Regions from separate parts of the Homo sapiens genome. Here all the other regions are linked to region 3. The links are contacts of gene promoters, found by promoter capture Hi-C in blood cells and fetal thymus (Javierre and others, 2016). All regions are on one chromosome and are shown on one strand. The core of a region is centred on a gene start or on the middle of the fragment in contact, and the rest is flanking DNA. Distances in the headings are between cores, read along the strand shown. Region 1 has its middle 93 kb from the start of LINC02285. Region 2 has its middle 140 kb from the start of LINC02285. Region 3 holds the start of RTL1 (retrotransposon Gag like 1). Region 4 has its middle 130 kb from the start of LINC00524. Region 5 has its middle 120 kb from the start of LINC02285.

What was found. The method cuts DNA at HindIII sites, captures the fragments that hold promoters and counts their contacts. A CHiCAGO score of 5 or more calls a contact.
Region 1: a fragment that was not itself captured here is called in contact with the fragment with the promoter of RTL1 in region 3 in 4 of 17 cell types (endothelial precursors, M1 macrophages, M0 macrophages and 1 more); the score reaches 6.5 in endothelial precursors.
Region 2: a contact is called between a fragment that was not itself captured here and the fragment with the promoter of RTL1 in region 3, in 2 of 17 cell types (M1 macrophages and M2 macrophages). The highest score is 5.3, in M1 macrophages.
Region 4: a contact is called between a fragment that was not itself captured here and the fragment with the promoter of RTL1 in region 3, in 1 of 17 cell types (endothelial precursors). The highest score is 6.0, in endothelial precursors.
Region 5: a contact is called between a fragment that was not itself captured here and the fragment with the promoter of RTL1 in region 3, in 7 of 17 cell types (M2 macrophages, megakaryocytes, M1 macrophages and 4 more). The highest score is 15.8, in M2 macrophages.

Annotation. Positions count from the first base shown.
Region 1 is chr14:101,212,224-101,215,437 of GRCh38, reverse strand. No RefSeq gene overlaps it. Among named protein-coding and RNA genes, the nearest start is that of LINC02285, 93 kb to the right of the region's middle. The HindIII fragment of the contact is 2,353 bases long and covers 143-2,495 here.
Region 2 is chr14:101,255,407-101,258,582 of GRCh38, reverse strand. No RefSeq gene overlaps it. Among named protein-coding and RNA genes, the nearest start is that of LINC02285, 140 kb to the right of the region's middle. The HindIII fragment of the contact is 2,858 bases long and covers 1-2,835 here.
Region 3 is chr14:100,902,406-100,905,532 of GRCh38, reverse strand. RTL1 (retrotransposon Gag like 1) reads left to right here and starts at 1,811. Exons shown (of 4, transcript NM_001134888.3): 1 at 1,811-1,928; 2 at 2,147-2,242. The region is part of intron 5 of MEG8 (maternally expressed 8, small nucleolar RNA host gene); the gene reads right to left. The HindIII fragment of the contact is 7,837 bases long and covers 1-3,127 here.
Region 4 is chr14:101,274,672-101,277,895 of GRCh38, reverse strand. No RefSeq gene overlaps it. Among named protein-coding and RNA genes, the nearest start is that of LINC00524, 130 kb to the left of the region's middle. The HindIII fragment of the contact is 940 bases long and covers 1,410-2,349 here.
Region 5 is chr14:101,236,226-101,239,307 of GRCh38, reverse strand. No RefSeq gene overlaps it. Among named protein-coding and RNA genes, the nearest start is that of LINC02285, 120 kb to the right of the region's middle. RefSeq lists an enhancer at 2,659-3,082. The HindIII fragment of the contact is 3,583 bases long and covers 1-3,082 here.

The DNA.
Region 1 (3,214 bases), core at 70-2,569, 310 kb before region 3:
TGTCCAGGCCCAGATGTCTCCGTGGAGTGTCTGGAGACTTCATATTACGTGGGTGTATGAGTCAACTTGAGCTGCTGTAACAGAACACCTGAGACTGGGCAACTTAAACAGTGGAAGTTGATTTCTCACAGTTCTGGAAGCTTGAAAACCCAAGATCAAGGTGCCAGTGATTCAGTTCCTGGTGAGGGCTCTATTACTGGGTTGCAGACGACCATCTTCTTGCTGTGTTCTCACATGGTGGAGAGAGAGAGAGAGAGAGAGAGAGACAGAGAGAGAAAGAGAGAGAGAGAGAGGTCATAGCTCTTCTTATAAGGGCACTAATCCCATCATAAGGCCTCCACCCTCAATGACCTAATTACCTCCCAAAGGCCCCATCTCCACATACTTTCTTTTTTTATTTTATTTTTATTTTTATTTTTGGAGATGGAGTCTTGCTCTGTTGCCCAGTCTGGAGTGCAGTGGCACAATCTCGGCTCACTGCAAGTTCTGCCTCCCGGGTTCATGCCATTCTCCTGCCTCAGCCTCCTGAGTAGCTGGGACTATAGGTGCCTGCCACCGCGCCCAGCTAATTTTTTATTTTTATTTTTTGTATTTTTGGTATAGACAGGGTTTCACCGTGTTAGCCAGGATGGTCTCGATCTCCTGACCTTGTGATCCACCTGCCTCGGCCTCCCAAAGTGCTGGGATTACAGGCTTGAGCCACCGTGCCCGGCCCATCTCCACATACTTTCATATTGGGGGTTAGAATTTCAACATATAAATTTGGGGATGGCCTGACACAGTCCATAGCAGTGGGGGTAATACGGTTTGGCTGTGTCCCCACCCAAATCTCATCTTGCAGTATAGCTCCCATAATTCCCACATGTTGTGGGAGGGACCCAGTAGCAGATAATTGAATCATGGGGGTGGTTTCCCCTATACTGTTCTCGTGGTGGTGAATAAGTCTCATGAGATCTGATGGTTTTATAAGGGGTTTCCCCTTTTGGTTGGTTCTTTTTCTCTCTTGCCTGCCGCCCTGTAAGACATATCTTTCATCTTCCACCATGATTGTGAGGCTTCCCTAGCCGCGTGGAACTGTGGGTCCATTCAACTTCTTTTTCTTTAAAAATTACCTAGGTTTTAGCCAGAGAAATTAAGCAAAGCAATTCTACAAACATAGAAAAAATTATAAATTTGTTTATAAATTACCTAATACAGGGGTCAAGGGGTGAGGCAGTTCCCATGTAAGATTTACCCGCCCAGAGCTCCAGGAACACCAGGAGGGCAAGTGCTCTGATGCCTCAACCTTCAACTCCCTCTGGACCCCCCAAATCAACACTGTCCCAAGGACCAACCTTTCAAGCCACAGCTTGAATTCAGGCTTACTTGTGCCTACCTGCTCACCTTTAGGGCACTCATCCTCCCCCTCAGCTCAGGGTCAGCCAGCATGTGAACTGGGTACCTCTAGGCCTGGGATTTTCAACTTGTGGATGATAAAACATTAGGGAGTCCAGGGAGTCATTTTTGTGGCCCATGACCAACGTGTTGTTTAAAGAAATAAGAATAGAAAAATCAGAATGTGTTCCTAAAGCCGTAGCTGCTGTTATAGTACCTATAGCAGGAGCAGTAGCCTGATGAAATTTTTGTTGCATATGTAATGCAAGAGAATCAATGTGTCTGCTTAGACGCATGGGCCAGGTCCTTATTTCTAAGTGGGTTCTAGAGAAGCTGGAAAGCTGCTGCTTTGGGGGATGCTGAGAATAAAAAGATTCACACTATGTATTCAAGATGCCTCAGACAAGGCACAGAGAAGGATATTTGAGGCAAGAAAGCCCTCTGGGATCATCTTTGCTGAACATCTCTTTTTACAGCTATGGAAAAAGAGGCCAAGAGGAATCCAGAAAGTTGCCTCAGGCCATCCATGGGTTTCTGCCTCAGGCCTCCCCAGGGCTCCTCCTAGGAATATAGTAAGGGACAGGGTAAAGTCAGTGAAAACGGCAGAGTCAGGACCTCCAAAAAGTGTCTCCTTGAAAACAATGAGAATACCGGCAAAAATTGGCAGCATCAACGATTTCAAAGTTCTGGAAATTGACCATAGGCCTGCAACAATTCTAGGAGGATTTATTCAAGCAAACCGGCAGAATCTTACAAAGAACAAGCCTTGCAGCACTTTAACTTACTCTATCCCCATGCCACACTCCCCAGCCCTGTGGTAGACTTGAAAACCAATAACCCACTATCAGGGTGAAGACTAATAGCTTGGCAGCCGCCAGAAAGGAAAAATGGCTAGAAGCAACTTCAAAGCCTCATTAACAGAATTGTCATTACTTGAAGTCTGATGGTTCACTAAACCCACTTGCAAGGTTGTCTTTATTTGACCTGACTTGGAGTTCTCCTGGTACAAAAAGCATTTTCAGTGGGGCATTTATTGGAAACATTTATAGGCAAATGTTTAGCTTCATGGTAACCAAAGCAGTGGGTAAGAGTTTGCGAAACAATAGGGTAGCCAACAAGCTTCAAATTACAAAGCTGGGGAATGACACGTCTACAGGAGCTGCGAACCAACATCTTTCCAGGAATCCAGAAGGCCATGTGCATGTTCAGGAAAGGCCTGAGCTCTCACCTCTACCTCTGGCTGGTCTTGAGGCTCTACAGAAGTAAGAAGTAAAGGCTCAGCACTTTGAGAGGCCAAGGCCGGGGATCACCTGAGGTCAACAATTTGAGACCAGCTTGGCCAACATGGTGAAACCCCGTCTCTACTGAAAATACAAAAATTGTCTGGGCCTGGTGGCAGGCACCTGTAATCCCAGCTACTCGGGAGGCTGAGGCAGGAGAATTGCTTGAACCCGGGAGGCGGACGTTGCAGTGAGCCGAGATCACGCCAATGTACTCCAGCCAGGGCAACAGAGCGAAAGTCCCTCTAAAAACAAACAAACAAAAAAGGAAAGGCTAAGGCAGAACTGCCTGGCTGGACATTTTAATGCTAGAATGTGCTCTCTCAGTCTTTGCCAAGGAGCTCTCTCTCTCTCTCTGTGTGTGTGCTGTGTGTATGTGTGTATGTGTCTCTCTGTGTGTGTGTGTGTGTGTGTGTGTGCGTGTGTGTTGAGGCACTCCGACTCACGGGATGCAGTTAAAGCAATGCTTAGAGGCAAACTTATGGTTATAAATGTTGATGTTAAAAAAGAAGGAAGGTCTTATGTCAATAATCTAAACTCCAATTTTAAGAAACTAGGTA
Region 2 (3,176 bases), core at 157-2,656, 350 kb before region 3:
AAACCTACTACTCTGCAGATGAACTTTAATTCATTCTCTTTAATGTTGGAAACAGGACAAGCGGAAGCACCGCAGCTATTCAACCTAACACGAGAGGCTCTGGCTAGTGCCATAAGATGAGAAAATGAAAAGATAGGAAGAGAAGAGGGAGGGAAGAGACGCAGCTGTCATCACACGCAGATTATATATCATCTACATAGAAACCCAACAGAATGAACAGAAAATTGATTGGAACTAATAATAGAGTTTAGCAAGATTGCTGAATACAAGATCAACTTACTAAAATTAGTGGCTTTCCCTACACCAGCATTAACCAATTAGAAATATAATAGAAAAAGAGATACATTCACAAGAGGAACCCAAATGATGAAGTATCTAGAAATTAAGCCAGAAATAAATGCAGAAAACCTTTATAGAGGAAAAAAAAATTAAAATTTTAAAAAAACGTAAAGGACATAAAAGAAGACATAAAAATGGAGAGATGAAATTGAAAACATCAAAAGGACATAAAAGAAAACATGAACAAATGGAGAGATAGACCATTTTTATGGATGCTTTAAGTTGTAAAAATGTCAAATCTTCCCACATTAATCTATAAATTTCATGTAATTTTGTTCAAAATACCAGCTGGATTTTTTTGAGGGACTTGACAAACTCATTCTAAAATATATATAAGCCATAATGTCCACAAATTGCTAAGTCTATTTTGACAAAGAAGAGCACATGTTTTGGGGGTGAGGAGTGGACTTACCCTGCATGATCTGGAGACGTCTTGCAAAGCCAGTGCCTAGCTCGGCTGGCTCTCTGCGGTCAGGCAGGGCCAGGGATGCCTCATACGGCAGGTGTTGGCCACCTCCATCCTAGGTGGTTCAGGACCCCAGGGATTTATTGTACCCTATGTGATGGCCCCAGGGAAGAACACGTTTCCCAGCCCATTCATATGCTGGCTGGATTGAGCTCCTTGTGGCTGTAGGGATGAGGCCCTCATTCCTTGCTGACCCTCAGCTCCTGGAGGTCGCCTGCATTCCTGCCAGGTGGCCCCTTCATCTTCAAAACCCAAAAGCCAAACATGGGGATGCTTCCTCTCATCTGAGCCCTCTCACACCTCAAATGTCTTTCAGGGAGGGCCCAGGGCTCACCTGATGCAGGCTCCAGGGATTGTCTCCTTTTTTTATTAACTCCAAGTCACCCGATTAGTCACCTAATCAAAGGAGGATACCCCTCCAGAGGTCACAGGGGGCCCTTGCGCTCAAGGAGAAGAGATCATATGCATTCTAGGGGGCATCTTAGAATTCCACTTACCACATCATAGTAATGAAAACAGAATCGAGGGCTTAAAGCCGTATCCTTCACACAGGAAACATAGTGTGTGATAGAGGTGGAGTCACCAGCCAGAGGGGAGGGGATACATTATTTTATTGTCTATGTAGGGAAAACTGACTCACTGTACAGAGAGAGAATTAGATTGATTTCCTAACACCTCATACCACACACATAGAGAGTCTGGATGGGTTAAATATAAATGGATTAAAATACTATGTGTGAGGATAAAACTATAATATTAATTAGAAGTGTGCAGAATACCCTGTGATTTTCAGGTGGAGGCGAGGCTTCTTAAATAGGGTCTTTGACAAAGCACAGCCTATAGAATAAAATGCTAATGGGGTTGACTAAGTCAGAATTAAATATTTCATCCGCAGAAAATAGACTCAAAGTTAATGGAGGGCTACGGACTGTAATATGCTATTTACAACGCTGGCATTGATAAAGGATTACTATCTAGAACATACAAGGGACTGTCAGAAATCAATGAGGAAGAGATGGGAGACCTGCAGAAAACAGTGGGCAATTCGGAGAAGGGAAATCTGAAAAGCTAACAAGTACGTGAAGTGATACTCAATTTCAATAGCAATTTGGGAGGGAGATGCAAAAATAATAAGATACCAATTTTGCAAAAAACAAAACATTGTTGGGTAACACTAATGTTGACCGAGCTGTGAGGAAACAGGAGCCTAACTCATTGTTGCTGGGAGCAGCTGATAGTGATCTGGCTGCACTTAACACGTTACTTTGTGTGGCTCTTGACTCAACAATCCCCCTCCTTAAAACATGCCCCTGAGAAACTCAAGCACGGATCCAGGGGCCAGGGGACACCAAAGGCATCATTGTCCCAGCTCCTTTTGCAGAGATGACAACTTAAGTGTCCACCCCCGGGGCATGGGTAAGTACAATGAAGATGCACAGTGCAGAATTCCGTGAAATTGTCAAAATCCCTGAACTAGAAGTCTACACAGCCACAAGCAGCACAGACAGATTTTTAAGGCATATTGTTGAATGAAAAAAGTGAGAAGCAGGAGCTCGATGGCACAACAAAACATACTCACATTGGAAGCAGTACTTACACACAAAAACAAGCTACATGTGTTTCAAAGTTAAACACCCATTCAAGAACATATATGAAACCTTCCCACGAGTATGGTGGGGATGAGGATGGGGAACAGAAGGTGAGAATTGGTGACATAAAATATGATAGGCAATTGGTAATGTTGTGCCATAGAGTAAGGAGTAGGGTGAATTCAGCTGTCTGAACTTAAGTGCACATCTCAAACATATATAAATAAAGGATATGTGATGGTTGGTCTCCACGGACGCTGCTCCTTCCAGAGGTCTGGGCGACTGCTCTGAGAAAGCCACCTCTGCGTCCCTAACCCTCAGCTGTGTCCCCGTGGGCATTCCTCCATGCTGGAACTAGCAGGCTGGGTGCAGTTCCCTCCCAGAGGACTCTACGGAAAGGACCTTCCCTGGGGGGCGAGAGGAAGGTGGGGGAGGCAAGCTTCCAGCCTGTGGCAGGTGGTTATATTGTTCCAACTATCTGCTGTTCCTCTCTGCAGGAAGATTACATTCTCCATGCTGTTGACGTCAAGGCTGGCCACAGGACTTGGCTCGGCCAACGACGTGTGGGTGGGTACATTGTGTTTCACTTTCAGGGAGCGGCTTCCAGAGCCAGTGGGTGCTTCTCCACGGCCTCAAGGCCAGCAGTGTGGGGATGAGGACTGTGAGGACCACCCATATCCAGAGCAGGGACAACAGGGCCACTAATATGGATTGTGGGGTGAGTGAGAAAGCAACAGAGGTGGTTGGAAACCACTGAACTCTGGGGGCTGCCTGTTTCTGGA
Region 3 (3,127 bases), core at 562-3,061:
AGGGAAGAGAATCATTCCACGTTGAGTGGACGGAGGACGATGTACCAGGGTGCAGAGTGTTGCGGAACGAGACACCCGCCAGCTGCCCAGAGACCCTCCTGCAGCCCCCAGCGCTCCTCTCCCCACTCTCCCTCCCAGTCCCTGCCTCCCCGAGCCCTCCAGCTCTCTCCCTGACCCCTGGCTGGAAAAGGGCCTGAGGGTACCACTCTTCAAGGCAGAGCGGCCACCTGATGAGCCCTTCCCTGGGACTCTGGTCCCAATTTGGTTACTGGGACAACGCTGTCTCCCATTAGACACGCTTTGAAGGAAGACCCTGGAGTGACCGGCTCAGTCATGCTGGGAAGGATTCAGCTGTCTAGCTTTCAAATGCCTTTTTTTTTTTTTTTGGCTTTTTTATTTCTTTTGGAAAGATAAGAGTTGATGCTTTTACCCTAAAACTGTGTGCCAAGCCGCTCTGGCTATCCTCAGCCCCACTCTTCCCCTATCTCTGTAGCCCTCCTTTCCGTCCTTCATAGGCTGCAAGCTGACTGGCGCCCGACCCCAGGTCCACACCCACCTCCCTCTACCCCCTGGTCCATGCACCACTCCCGGCCTCCTCCCCCACTCTTCTCTTTCTGGCCCCGCTGCAGAGTCTCGGGCCCCTCGGCTTCCTGGGCGCCTGGCCACCACGCAGCGCCTGGAAGTGCTCCCTCCCTCATCTCTCGTTCCCCACTTTGGAAAGCCGGCCACCGGACAGGACAGCTCCCGGGACAGCTCCCGCAGCCTGCTGCATTGCAGCGCAGCCGTCTGTGAGGGAGGGGCGCAACCTGCAGCCCCCGCCCCCCGCCCCGACCACCCCCGCCCAGCAGCCCCCAGCCCCGGCACGGCCGGCTCCCCCGCCGCACCGCACGCATCTGTCGCAGTTAAAAGCGCCGCTGCCAGAGCAAAAGCGCCGGTCCCTCTTGACTGTCCCCCTCCTCACTTTTCGGGCTCAGAAATGTGGCCCAGGCAGCCCCCTTGTGGCACGTGGGGGCGCCACAGACTCTTGGCTGGTGTCTGAAGAATTCAGACTGTCTGATTCCACCGCACCGTGAGTTGGCACAAATCTTCGGTGGCCCAACTCCTACCCGATGCAGAACTCTGCTCAGCGGCCTCTCTGAGTGGGGGGCACCTCTCCCCTCCCCTCTCCCCGTCCACACCTCTCCCTTCTCCCTCCAGGGAGGAAGCGAAGGAACTCTCCTGTTGAATATTGCTCTGACAAGCAGACAGGTGTCTGGCAAACGTGATTGGGGTGGTGGGGGAAGGGGGGGGCCAGGAGGGTGGTGGGAATGGGGGCTTTTCTCGAAATGACGTTTGGTTTCCATCTCTTATCTCACAGATGGGAAACCGAGGTGCGGGGAGGGCCATAGTCCCTGTCTGTGTCAGAGTCAAGGCTGGAGATCCTCCTCCAAGTCCAGCCTGGGGCATTTCCCTGAGGTGCCGGGGCACCCTTAAGACGTACCCCTCTTCCCCCTCCCACTTGTCCAGCCCCTCCAGATCTGGTTCTCCCCGTCCGGAAGCCCTGGAGGGCCCCTGGATGTTCTCTGTCCTCTCTAACTCACTGTCCACACAAACAAGCCCAGCCCCCTCCGTCTCTATCTGCAATCTACTTGCAGACAGGCAGGGCCCTCTCCACATCAGGTTAATAATGCCATTTTCATAAGCCTCTGCCCATAGGTGCTACCACCTAATTTTGAATCTGCCCTTCAAACGGATTGGGCCACAGAGGAGCTGGGATCTCAAGCACCGCTGGGAGGTGCTTATAACTAATCAATCCGTCCCCTGCCCACCCACACCCCCCCAGCACTCGGCACAGCCTCGCTGAGCAGCCTTCAGCAGCAGGGTGTGGTGGGGAGCCTCGGAGAGTCTGGGGTTCCATCCTGGCCCAGCCTCACACCAGCTGAGAGACGGTGAGTATAGGACTTTGCCTTTCTGTGCCTCAGTTTCCTCATCAATCTAATGGGGCTCATGAGACCAGTGTGCAGGGTTATTGCCCGGGTGAGTTCTTTGCAGACAGCCCAGTTCGGGACTTGGCTCCAAGACGGGGCTCCATAAATCTCCATGCCTGCACCCCCTCTTGATCACCTCAATTTCCAGTGTCTTATTCCCTGTTTGTTTCCCCCACCAGACCGACTGAGCTTCGAGGACAGGAAGCCACCGGCATCACTAAGCCACCGGCATCACTTCATCCCCAGCCTCACGCTTGGGACTGGGCCCGGGGAAGGTAGGTACACTGTGGTGGCTTGGAGAATGAGTGCATGGATGGATGTCTGTCCCATAGTCTATGGGATGCCCGGACCCCGCTGAGTTTCTCCTCCCCAGACCCCTGTCTAAGCTGGCCCTTCAAGGAAGCCGCCGGGAAAAACTGTTCCTTTATGCCTTCATGCTTTACCCCTCGTGCTGTTATATACAATGCAAATTCTCGGTCTATTAAATGCAGATGTGGGCTCTGCATGTCATTTATGCTGCCTGCTGCATCTACTGTGAGTTCCACAGGCCGGGGGCTGCCTCCGGCTGACTTGATTTGTGCGATTAAGCCAGCAGAGGGGACTCTGCCAGGAGAGGTTCCCGTTTGTATTGGGAGCAGGGTCTTGAAAGGCCAGGCTGTTTTCTCTCTTGCGACACTTGTTACATACCTCTCTCTCCCTCCCTGGGTCCCACCGTCTACTCCACAAGCATTTATGAAGTGTCTGATGTGTGCAAGCCTACACTTATCTCATTTAGTCCTCACTTCACGCCAGTGACGGAGAAACTCTCATCTCCATTTCACAGGGGAAAAGCCGAGTCTGAAAAGTAAAGGGAATTGTCTTGCAGCTAGAGAGCAGGGAGTCAAGCCGGTCTGCCTGGCTCGGGAGCCCCCAGCCCTGCTGTGGCTGCCTACTGCTGCTGCTGCTGCTGCTGCTGCTACTGCAGGGCTGACCAGGGCTGGCCGGGAGGCCAGCAGCTCCTGCAGAAAAGGCAGGGGGCTGCATACAGAGCGTTCTCCCTAGCAACTGGAAAAGGGGCCATAGAAAACCCAAGAGGGCTGAGAAGCCGCTCAACAGATAGACATGGAGCAGCTGGCCCCAGGAGGGGAGCACCACGCCCTCCCCTGGGCTTTTAGCAGAAC
Region 4 (3,224 bases), core at 630-3,129, 370 kb before region 3:
GCCCAGGGATGCCTCATCACTCATCCCCACATTGCTTCCATTGACCCTGGGGTGACCTTGCGACTGCTGACCTTTATGTCTTGATTCCACTTCAGTAGGGATGGGGAGGGGTCACTCATTAGCGATGAGTGATAATGGAAATCCAGGCTCTCCACGTGGTCTCCCCTGACTCTGTGGGGTGTAGTGTCCCCTGGCATGGATGAAAGTCCTTACTCCTCATTCAGCCTTCTTTGACGCTACCCCAGTGGAGGGGCTGATGTGCCTTCTTACAACCCCACAGGGCTAGAGAGCTACGCTCCCCCTGCAGTTTTAAAGGGCAAGGGTGGAGTTAGGGCTGCAGCTGTTTGTGTGGTATTTGACAGGTGTGGAGAGGTTCTTGTCTAAAAATTTTCTATATTACTAGCTTGCCCATTTACTCATCCTTTACCAAGAGAGAACAGGCTTTTGTTGGGGCTGTTTTGGTCTGCACACATTGGCATTTCCATGTTCCCAGATTATTTAACACCAAGTCTGGGATATTTAAGGCAAAAAGAAAACCCAGGGAACTCAATTCCATGATGTTCTTGAGATCCTGAGGTCCCTAGCCAGCTTTCTTTCTTCTTTTCACTTTTTTGTATTTCTTATGTTTGTTTTATATATAACGTCCAAGGCATTTAGCTGTACACGCCAATTCCATGGTGTTCTTGAGATCCTGAGGTCCCTAGCCAGCTTTCTTTCTTCTTTTCACTTTTTTGTATTTCTTATGTTTGTTTTATATATAACGTCCAAGGCATTTAGCTGTACTTAGCAAGCGTGAATAGAAAAAGTATCTACTCCATCTTCCAGAAGTAGAAGCCGTCTACTGTATTTAATAAATCAAATGATACAGTGTTATAATTTTTGCCTTAGACAGTCTTGCTGGTGTTTAAAAAACATTAAGCATGTGTTTACTTTTGTGTATGTGTGTACTCAGTCTTTCATAGTATCCACATATTTACCATTTCCAGCGTTCTTCCTTTCTTCCTGTAGATACATTTCCTGTTAGCCTGAGGCACTTCCTTTACTCATTCTTATAGAGCAGACCTTCTAGAAACTCATTCTTTTTGTTTGTCTGAGAATGTTTTTATTGCTCATTCAATTTTGAAGGATTTACTAGCTATAGAATTTTTGGTTGAGTTTTTTTCTTTTGCACATTGAATGGCATTTGACTGTCTTCTTGTTATCATTAATTCTGATAAGAAGTCAGCCATTAATCACTTCTCCCTGTACATGATCAGTTGTTCTTTATTTTCTGCTTTTCAGAGTTTATCTTTGTTTCTTTATAAGCATTTTGGAATTCCATGAGAAACCCACAAGGGCCACATCCCAGAATCAATGGCTACATTCCAGGACTAAGGCATGAATATAAATGGACCTGCCCTGACAAAGCTTAAAACCACGTCTCTGCAGGAGTCAGGTGATCCACAAGTTACTTATATCAACATTCTTCACAGGAAGACACAGAATCAAAAGGTCTGAAATGTATCATTCATGATGTTCAGCATACAATAAAAAATTAGTAGGCATGCAAAAAGTAGAAACGTTTGACCTATCAAGAGAAAAAAATAGTTTGTTCTTAATAAAAGTAGGCTGCATTAACAATCCAGATCTTAGAATTAGAGAGCGATCACCTTAAAATACCTATTATAACATGTAAGTAATTCACAGGTAAAGATGAATATACAAATGCTTTATTAAACTTATAGTGAGGTTATGTCACAAACTCAGTGAGTTAAAAATACTATAAGTCAAAAATGCACTTAATACTCTTATAAACCAAACCCATCATAAAGTAAAACAAAAACAAAAACAAACCCATAAGTTGAATCATTGTAAGTTGGGGACTGTCTGTAATAGGTGAAGAGATGAGGAATTTTAAGAGAGATATAGAAATCATAAATAAAGAATTAATGTACATCACTATCTGAAGTCAAGTATTTATTGGATAGGATTAACTTGATATTGGATATATTGTGGAGAGAAAATGATCAGCAAAAATGAAGAAATGTCAAAAGAATTTCCTAAACCAAAGCACAGAGAGAATTTTAAAAGGCAAAAACAAGGAATAGAGAGAGCCTCAGTGACCAATGGAACACTATTAAACAGTCTATTATATGTGGAATCAGAAGCTCAGAAGTACGTAAGAGAGAAGAAGCAAGAAAAAAAATTGAAGAAATAGTTGCCAAAACTTTCCCAAATTTTATTAAAAACATCCAGCCACTGATCTAAAATCCTCTGAGAAACTCAAGCAGGATAAACACAAAGAAAACCACAAGTAAGCATATTGGAGTGTGGCACAAGTTTACTCTTTGACTTTCAGCTGCTGAAGCTTAAAGATAAAAAGGAAAAAACAAAGACACGTGAAATATAGGGAAACAATGCTACAATGATGCTGTTCTCCTCATAAGAAACAAGGTAAGCCAGAAGGCAACAAAAAAGTATCTGTAAAATACGGAAAGAAAGAAACATTCAACATAGAATATCCTTTAAAGATGAAGATAAAATAACACACTGTCATTAAATTGAAGTGAAAGAACTGGCAGCAGATATGCATTATAAGGAATGCTAAAGAAAGTTCTTTAGGATGAAGGTGTGTAAGACTTGATAGAAACACACCTGTAGGCTGGGCGCAGTGGCTCATGACTAAAATCCCAACACTTTGGGAGGCTGAGGCGGGTGAATCACTTGAGGTCAGGAGTTCAATACCAGCCTGGCCAACATGGTGAAACCCCATCTCTACTGATAATACAAAAATTAGCCAGGCGTGGTGGCGGGTGCCTGTAGTCCTGGCTACTTGGGAGGCTGAGGCTGGAGAATCGCTTGAACCTGGGAGGTAGAGGTTGCAGTGAGCCAAGATTGTGCCATTGCACTCCAGCCTGTGCGACAGAGCCAGATTCTGTCTCTAAGAAAAGAAAAGAAAAGAAAAGGAAAGAAAAGGAAAGAAAAGGAAAGAAACACACCTGTAGAAGAGGAAATGAAGAGCACTGAAATGGTGAGTATATAGTAAATAGACTATTTTTTCCTTAATTTCTTTAAAGTAAGTGGTTGTTTATATAACAATGTAATGTGGAGTTTATTACATGTAGAAATAAAATATATACAACAATTGCAAAGGGGATGGGAGAGCATTAAGTTAAAATATACTATCGTAAGATTCTTCTATATCAAGTGGTATAATATTAATTCAAGGTAAATGTGACAACTTG
Region 5 (3,082 bases), core at 344-2,843, 330 kb before region 3:
TGCGGTGGCCCCAGTTGTTTGCATAACACCTGCGGCAAGAGCTCTGCAGGTCGGCACCCACCGAGGGAGAATTGCAGCTGACCCTGAACCTGGGCCAGCAGCGCCTGGCAGAAGGGCTGAGGTCACAGACACTGCCTTCTTCCTGATAAGTTTCTGAGAAACACAGGTATGTGATGGGATGAGTCTGCAGCAGGCTGGGCTTCCTGGTACAGCCAACAGGATGGAGCTGTCCCGCTCTCATCGTCAGAGGAGCTTCGTAGGTGCTGCTTGTTGAGATCATGGTGGTTTGATCCACAGGAAGGATGCAATGCATCTATTTGTACGAGTGTGTCTTCATTCATCCCTTTGTTCATTCAAGAAATATGCGGGGACCTTCCTGCCTGCTCCAGGGAATAAAAAATAAATGCGAAAATCTTCCTGCCCTCCTGGAACTCACAGTCTAAGGAAAGAGACATACTGGCAGGCCACCTGTTACAATGTAGCCCCTTTGTTTATTGATGGATTCATTCATTCATCAAGTACCTCTTGCAAGCTGTTTATGTGGTAGGTACCTGGGTGCTCACCAGGGATGAGTCCACAAGAAGCAGTTAGTTAAAATGTCAGACGTTGCCTGTTGAGTGGTGAGCAGACATAAACCTTTTGAACAATGTGAAAATAGCTCCTCAAGAATCATTTGTTGAGAAAAGACTCTTAGGCCTAAAAGGTTCATTTGAAACCTTATATTTGATAACCACATATCAGATGCAGCCAACAGTATTTGCTGCTTCTTGCATCCATTGATCACTCACTGGGCACCCAGTAGGCACCAGAGGAGTACAGGCATGACAGAGACACAGCCCCAACTTCCAACAGCTCGTGGGTGGTTTGGGAAGAAGAAAGGTCAGAGCCCAGCGTGAGACCCATCTCTCACCCACCTGATCAGCACACAGCAAGTGCCTGGACTTCTTCTGGGACTTCTGGGCTCTACCTGGAGTTCTCTGCCTCTTCAGGGACCACCCCATTTGCTTGATAATTGAGTGACTCCTGGTAGCCTCCCCCATCCCATTGCCTCACAGTACTTCTGAGGGCTGGAGACAGTTTCTTTCTACAGATGAGAGCACCAAGACCCTCTGAGGAACGGTCACCTTGAAGGAGTGGCCAGCCTCCTCTGAGACCGGGGTGGCAGGAGGCACGCTTGGAGACCCACTTTCACTGGGTGGCCTGGTCCTTAGGACCAGCCCATTTCTGCCCTTTGAACATCAGCAGATTCATTTTAGGGCACTTGGTCCTTGGGGTTGGCTCTTGCTGCAAAGGCACCATTTTCTCCATTTAGAAACTTGGTCCTTTTGGAAGCTGGAACATATCATTAATTTATTCATTAGTTTTAAAGATTTCAAAACAGACTTTCTCAGTGAAAAAAAATGTGGAGACATGTAATCCCAGCACTTTGGGAGGCCGAGGAGGGCGGATCACGAGGTCAGGAGATCGAGACCACCCTGGCTAACATGGTGAAACTCCGTCTCTACTAAAAAAAAAGACAAAATATTAGCTGGGCGTGGTGGCTGGTGCCTGTAGTCCCAGCTACTTGGGAGGCTGAGGCAGGAGAATGGTGTGAACCCGGGAGGCAGAGCTTGCATTGAGCCAAGATCGCGCCACTGCACTCCAGCCTGGAAAAAAAAAAATGTGGAGGCAGAGGAGGGCCCTGCAGGAAGCTGGAGCTTTGTCCTGTGGAGGATGGGCGCTGAGTGTCCAGGCTGGGGCCTTAGCACTTGCAGGAGGCGGCGGCGGCGTTGGACATGTGTTCCTGCCTGGCAGAGACCTGGGGACACGGAGCTGAGGGGTCCAGGCAGGGGTGGCCAGTGCTCTGAAATCAGCCAAGTTTGCCTAAAAAGAAACCGAGGAGTGTGGAAGTTAGGACTTGTGTCTCCTCCAGATACCACCTGGGAAGGAGGCCAGGGGAGGCGGAGTCCCCTTACCTGACAGCTGCTTTGTGAGACTAGGCACTGTGTGCCCATGGGCATGGATGGGGCTGGCCGGTGGAGAGGGCATCTGGAGCAGGCCACAGCACCCATGAGGTCTTGGGAGCAGGACACACTGGGCCAGAGTGGGTGGGAGGGAGACCACGCAAAGGTTCTGCTCAGCCAACCCCGCAGCGAGTGTTTCTGTACAACAGAGAGGCTGTTTTAATTCAGACTCTAAGAAGGATGGACTCTGCCCATCACAGGGGGACTCGGACCCCTTCTTGGGGACCCCATGCTGAGTCCGCAGCCCCCAAGACCAGCATCAAGTCCTCAGGGCCTGGCACTCACCTACCACCAGCAGTGGGAAGGAGCTGCAGAATTCAGTGACAGGTCACACATCCACTGCTTACCTGCCTGGGCTGAGACCAATGCCTTTGGGATGCACCCTGGGAGGGCCTGAGGACAAAGGCAGAAGATAAGGTCCACCATCAGCGATGGAGGCAGGCAAGGATCTGGCACACTCCACAACTTCCTCCTGCCCTGCTGGTAACGGGCCCTCAGAGGCACCTGAATGAGGGAAGGTGGGCCTGGCATGTGTGCCAGGACCCTGGGAGGCCGTCCAGTAGACGGAGGCCATGAATGCGACTGCAGCTGAACTTTGAGCCGATAGGCACATTCTTTTGAGTTAACAACCCCAGTGGGGTGTTTTCATCTGCGGGACCCCGGGCAGTGGGCTGTGCAAGCCCAGCTGCTAGAGTCCATCTGAAGTGGGGAGCTGGCAGAGGCAGCCCGAGATGGACAGACCCCATCACCTGAGATGGGCGTCCCTCAGGGGAGCAAGGCACAGCCCTGTGCCTGGGAAAGAGAAAATCCACCGGGAACCTGGAGGAGAGACAGTGCTGTTGTTGTCAGGCTCAGCAAATAAAAACACAGAACACTCTGTTACATTGGAATTTCAGACCAACAATAAATAACGTCTTCATATAAGCGTATCTCAAATGTTGCATCTTTGTCAGACATTCCAACGTAACTGGGCATTGTTTTTCTTTTTTTTCAGATATTTCATCCGGAAATTGTGTAAGGAAGACGAGTTCTGACAATGCTATGAGGCTGCCGTTTGGGGGGATTCTGTGGTGGGAGGA